Regions from separate parts of the Homo sapiens genome. Here region 2 is linked to region 1. The links are contacts of gene promoters, found by promoter capture Hi-C in human tissues and cell types (Jung and others, 2019). All regions are on one chromosome and are shown on one strand. The core of a region is centred on a gene start or on the middle of the fragment in contact, and the rest is flanking DNA. Distances in the headings are between cores, read along the strand shown.

Region 1 (2,965 bases), core at 343-2,842:
GAAGCTATAACATCTTTATCTGAAGCAACTGAAAAAGTTGGTTTTTGCAAGTATGGCTGTCGGAAACACCAAAGCAGCACTTACTTAGGTTCTTCTCAGGGATGGATACAGGCTGGCTAGGAGAAGGTGGGAGAGGGGCTGGCTGGGGACTTTTACAGCCAGCCACAGAGATGGCCCTGGACACAATCTTGCTAAGGGACCTCAGACCACAGCCCCAGCTCCAGCCTCCCGGCAGGCGAGCAGCGCCCAGCACGACTCCAACCAGCCACCGTCCCTCCCCCACACCCTCCCCAGTGCTGTCAGCGTCCTCACTTCTTCTGGAAGGCCAGGAGCAGCCTCGGGTCCAGGATGTTCTCCTCCGGCTCCCAGCTGTTATGTCTGCAAAGCAGAGGACAGGGCAGCATTAGACGCCAGGCTGATGATCACCGCTTTGCAAGGCAGCCCGAGGGGGCTCGCCCTCACCGCTCCTCGACTTGGGCCGATGGCAGTGGCACCGTAGCACCATGGCACTTCTCAAAGTCCAAACCCAGGTTTTGGAGGCTGGCCACCCCCCACCAAGCCAGCACTCTAACCTCAGACCCAAAGGGAAACTGCCGCTCCAACCCCCCAATTAAAACAAGGCCACAAGAGGACTCCCACAGTCTCTGCCTGGGAGAAAAACAAACCCCCATAAAACGCAAAGTTGCAGAGAGGGATTCCCCCAAACCCTGGCCCGGAGCCAGAGGAGGAAGGGAAGGCAGGTCCAGCATGCAGGGAGGGGCACAGGCGCCCAGCCCGAGATCCAGAACAATGTGGCGCGCGGGCCGGGGCACCTCGAGGGGTAGCGAAGAAAGAGCGGGGTCCGGGAAGACGCAGAAACGGGGCCGCGGGAGCAGCTGTGCAGAGAGCCCCTTCCGGGGATGCCAAACACCCTCCCTTCCATTAAAAGAAAGAAAAAAAAAAAGAAACTCTACATCCATCAATAGCAAGCTCAGGTTACAGCGGGGAGAATCTGGCCAAGAGGAGGGGGGCTTGCATCCCGCGCCTCCCTCCCGGCCGGGACGGGGGTTGGGGGGAGCGCGGCGCGGCAGCCGAGGAGGTTCTGGCGCGGGGGGCCGCCCAGCTCTGCACCCGCGGGCGTGTAAACAAAGGGCAACCTCGGGCCGGGCGGCCCCCGCCCCCCTCAGAGCCGGAGGAGCCCGCGGGGACCCCGCGAACTTCCCGCTCTGCCCGCGGGCGCCCCCAGGCCACCGGACGGCGCGGCCGAGGGGCTCCACGTCCCCACCCCCGGGCGAGGGGGCGGGAGGGGGGCGCGGCGTCGCGGGGGACTCACTTGGAGGACCAGCCGCGCCACTTGACCAGGTACTCCAGCTTGCCCTGCGGGGAGAGAAGAGGGGCCGTGAGCCAGACGGACAGCGGGCGGCGGGCGGGGGGCCCGGCGGGCCGCACGCACCTTGCGGAGCCGCTTGCTCAGGATGCACTCGGCGGCGAAGACCTGCTCGCCCACGCTGCTCAGCTCCTCCATGCTGCCCGGCAGCCAGCCCGACCGCGGCGCCCGCCGCCAGTCACCCGCCCGGACCGCCGCGCGCCCCGCCGGCAGCACACAAAGCACCGCCCCCGCCCGGCGCCGGCCCGCCCCGCGCACGCGCACCGCCGCTCCGCGCCCGCGCCCCGGCCCGCCGCCCGCCCCCGCGCGCTGCCCAAATCCCGTGCGGGCCAATCAGCGAGGGGGGGCGGGTGCGGGGCGGGGCGGGGCGCGCATTGTCCGCGGCGGGCTGGGCCTCGCGCTCCGGCGGGGGGTCCCGCGCGGGGCCCCGGGCGGGGGCGGGGGCGGGGGTGGGGGCGCGGGCGGGCCCCTGGCTGGGGGAGGAGGTGCCTAGGGACTTCGGGCCTGGGGCGCCCACCGAGTCCCGCGTGATTCCCGGGGCGCGCCCGCCCTTGCTCCCAACTCCGTTTTCCGGGCAAAAAGCCATTGTTCTGGCCCGAAGGGAGGGAAGCGGGACGGGGCGCGGCGGCTGCTTCCTGCCCCCGCCTTCGAGGGGCGCTGCTCCGGGGCACGCGGGGCCCCACCCTTCCCCCGGCTTCTTGAACTGGCTTTTCCTCGGCAGCGGGGGAGTCGCTCTGTTTTGGACGAGAGCAAAACGGGTCGGGGGCTGGGGAAGGAAAGGAAGACGAAGTCCGGGGGAGGGGCCCACAAACCCCAGCAGCCGAGGCTTTTTCCCCCAAAGGCGAGAGAGGAAAATGCTTTAACTTAAACCACCAAGCACTCTGAGAAAGAAGTAATACGAACTGCCCGGAGTTCTTATTAAACAGCTATGAAAAGTGGATCCAGCCCCCGAGTTTTAGGGCACGTGTAGGGAGAAAACCAGCTGCACCTTTTCTGAATTTGTTCCCCGATTTTGATGAAATGGAGGGGGAGGGGGCGGTTTGCAAGGCTGTTCCTAACTTCGGACTAGGTCAGTAGTGGCCCGCCAGGGCTGGGCAGCCGGCGTCCTTCGGATCAATTGTCCGCGGCAGAAAAGGGTCAGGCCATGTTATGAAAGTGGGGGTGACCCCTTGTCCTCCCTGTGATCGTCGTCAGCAGGCTACCCTTTTATTCCGGTGTTAAGATTCGAATTCCATGAAGAATCACCCTTTAAGTTATTTAGATTTTGAATCAGGACAAGTCAAACACGTAATGAAAGAGACCTGAGCCTTAGCTTCATTCGTCTCAACGCAGTCTAACTCCATGAAAATTCACTCTCTGCTTTTCTTGCTTCCTTGAACACAGCTGCAAAATTCTCTTTCTGTTGAGCAGATCCAAAAGTCGTTTCTTGTTGTAGGAGACTGTCTCAATGTAATTGTGATCATCAAAACCATATTTATAAAGGGTTCTGCAGGAGAAATGTGTTTTTTTGTTTTTACAGAAAGGCCTACTGGAGAAAATACTGAACTGTAGGAACCGATCTTTCAATTTATGGCGTGTTCTTCAGTTTCTTTGGTTAGA
Region 2 (2,965 bases), core at 241-2,740, 260 kb before region 1:
CTCTTTCCAATCGTTTCTATCCTTTTAAACAGAGCCTAAGCGAGCAGAGGCCCGGTGGCAGGGATCTTCACTCAGCCGCCCTCCCTGTGCGCGCTCAGTGCTTCCACCCAGGCCCCAGGACGGTGACCGCGGACTATCGCGGGCCGCCTAACCGCAGGGACCCCTCCCATCGCGGGTCACCCCCAAGCCTGCGAGAGGGGATCTGTCCTTGCAGGAGGGAGGCGCGGGGCCGGGCTGGTCTCCGGCCACAGCGAGTGGCCCCGGAGCAAGGTCAGGGGCGGTATCCAACAGCCCCGCGCCCTGCAGAGCCCTCTACTCTTAGGAGGACTGCGCGCAGGGACCGCCACGCAGAGTGGTTGCCATGGTGACTGCAGAGTGAGCGGTCCCGGGTTTTAGAGGGAGTCGCGCGCTTGGAGTAGGGGAAAGAGGGAGGCCGAGAGAGGACAAAGGGACAGGAGGGGAGAAGTGAGAAGGGTTGGCGGGGGGGTGAGGGGCTGAACGCAGTGGACGGGAAAGGCCAGCAAAATGGCGAGAGAAGGGACACAGGCGAGAGGAAGGGGGAGTGGAGGCGAAGGGGCGAGGCAGGAGCCGACGCGGGGGCCACCTGGAGCGGTGAACGGAGAGCGCGGCCTGGCGACTCCAAGACCCGCTGCCCCTCGGCCCGGCTTACCGGCCCGCCGCGCCGCCCGGTTCCGCCATTTCCCGTTGCTAGGCGACGCTGTCAACATCCGGCCGGGCCGGGACCACGCGCGCTGCGAGGGCGGGGGCCGCCGGGGGCGGCGCGGCCTTTGTGCCATCTCCACGCACGCAGAGGCGCGCGCCGTCTCGACGTGTCGTCCCTTAGACTGTAATGATTAGAGCACGACCATGCTTTTCCTTTATCGCTCTCTGCGCCCGGGTCCCGCCTCGGCTGCGCTCAATTTCTGTAAAGCGACAGCGGCGTCAGCGTGTGCCCAGCGGGCGGCTCGAGGTCCCGAAGGGACCTGCCGGGCACCTGGGGACCCCGGACTGCTAAGCGCCCGGGAATGGCAGGCGGGCTGGGGGCACCGGGGGCCGGGGACCCCGCGCATGGCGAGCGCTTTTCCATCTCCTGCCCTAGGGGGCTCCGGTGCCCTTCTCCAGGGGTCCTACGGAGACTCCTTGCATGGACGCCCGGGGGGTCTTCCGGAGCGTATCTTCCCTTCCTAGTCCGAAATAGGAGAAATCTCCCTGCAGAGGGCGGCAGCGGAGGGCCAGCGCGCACGCGGAGCGTCCGAGGAGCCCTGCCTTTCCTTTGGGGACGCCAGGCTCGGGACGGGGCACAGTCCCCGAGGCCGGGACGCGGCGAGGCCTGAGGGAGGGCCAGCAGGGAACTAGAGGCTTGGGCCCAGGGCTGGGCCAGAAGGTGGGCGGGGAGACCGGCGGGGGCAGGCAGGGGCCGGGCCGGGGGCGGGCCCGGGGGCGGGCCGGGGGCCGGGCCTCCCCGCGCGTCCCCGCCCCGCCGCGCCTCACTGGCGGCGGCAGCGGCGGAGGCGACGGTGGCGGCTCTCGGAGCCGGCGCGAATCCGGCCCCCGCAGCGGGACCCGGGTGGGTATCGGGGCCCGGACGGGGCCGCGGGGGCGGGGTCCGAGGGGTCCACCGCGCAGCGAGCAGCGCCCCCTCGGCGGAGCTGGGGCGGGGGCGCGCGGGGCGCGTGGGGCGCGTGGGCCTGCAGCCGCGGGACCGGGGAGGGGCCGGGGTCCGGCCGCCGTCCTCGGGGTGCGGGGCGCCAGCAGGAGCGGGAGCGTTGTGGGAGGACCTGGATCACGGAGGGGCACCTGGGGACTTTTCCCCGCGGCGAGTGAGGGCGCCCGGGCCCGGAATGGGCCTAATTCGGGGAGACTGGTCCCCGCCTGTCTGGAGCGGTGGACCGGGGAACTTGCGGTCTTTGTCTGGCTGAATCGGCGGAGCAGACGGATGAGAACTTGTGGGGTGCCGGCGCGCGCCCACACAGCCTCCAAAGTGTGCGTCCCCCCAGCAGCGCGCGCTCAGCTTTCCCGGCCTGTCGGGCTTGGTGGTCTGGGCTGTTTAAGATCCGCGTGTCGGGATACTCACTTCCGTTCCGCCTGGGCTCCCTTGTTCTTTCCTTTGGGAAAAAAAAAAAAAGAAAAAGAAAGAAAGAACGAAAGGAAGGAAAGAAAAAAAGGAAAGGCAACTGAAGATTGCTAAACATAACCTAGGGGATCCTGCCGGAAGCCGCTGAATCCTGAAATCCTGTGATTCCCACACTCGGAAGCTGGTGTCGTATATTGGCCACAAAGTAGTTCAGATTTGATTCAGAAATAGGAAATGAATAGAAAAGACATAACAAAAGTTAGTCTCGCCTTATGGTAAAGTTTGTTTTACTGTCTGGGTCAAGTTCAAATGAGAAGCTGGGCTGATTGGCCAGCCTCTGCGACTTGATCCTGAAGATCTGCTTTCTTTTCTACCAGAAGGCTCCTAATTCTTTTATCTGGAATAAAAAGGGAACTCCGTCTTAAAGATGCTCACGTGAGGCGGCATATTGCCAGAGGGTGGGCGCAAAGACTGGGGGCTGGAGATTCCATTCCAAATCTGTTACTGATTGATCAGAACACTTTTTCAAATCCATGCCTCAGTTTTAGAAAATCCTCATTAGAAACGCTAACAGTAAAATTGGTGAATACTAAACACTTTTAAGAACCATGAAAGCTTTTGTAAATAAAGAATAAAGTGAGGAGTAACTTTTGGTATTAACTACAAAGTTCATTAATGGATGTTGTTTGCATCCTGAGCGTGGTTATTGTGCGCATATTTTTTTGTAAGTGGCATGTTTATGGTGAGACTATGGCTAACGAAAGTTTTTATGGCGAAAGTTTTTATGGCTGGGCGCCGTGGCTCACGGCTGTAATCCCAGCACTTTGGGAGGACGAGGCGAGCGGATCACCTGAGGTCAGGAGTTCGAGACCAGCCTGGCCAATATGGTGA

What was found. Contacts are between HindIII fragments. The study calls those that stand out against the background at their distance.
Region 2: a contact is called between the fragment with the promoter of TBC1D16 here and the fragment with the promoter of CBX2 in region 1, in 1 of the 25 tissues and cell types used here (pancreas).

The regions. Positions count from the first base shown.
Region 1 is chr17:79,776,775-79,779,739 of GRCh38, reverse strand. It overlaps CBX2 (chromobox 2), which reads right to left and starts at 1,592. Exons shown (of 5, transcript NM_005189.3): 1 at 1,433-1,592; 2 at 1,313-1,356; 3 at 313-378. The coding sequence starts at 1,504. RefSeq lists an enhancer at 339-932 and silencers at 1,328-1,397, 1,408-1,787. The HindIII fragment of the contact is 15,418 bases long and covers 1-2,965 here.
Region 2 is chr17:80,034,397-80,037,361 of GRCh38, reverse strand. TBC1D16 (TBC1 domain family member 16) reads left to right here and starts at 1,490. Exons shown (of 12, transcript NM_019020.4): 1 at 1,490-1,567. It overlaps CCDC40 (coiled-coil domain 40 molecular ruler complex subunit), which reads right to left and starts at 720. Exons shown (of 20, transcript NM_017950.4): 1 at 671-720. The coding sequence starts at 699. RefSeq lists enhancers at 1-212, 1,112-1,231 and a silencer at 1,422-1,491. The HindIII fragment of the contact is 13,824 bases long and covers 1-2,965 here.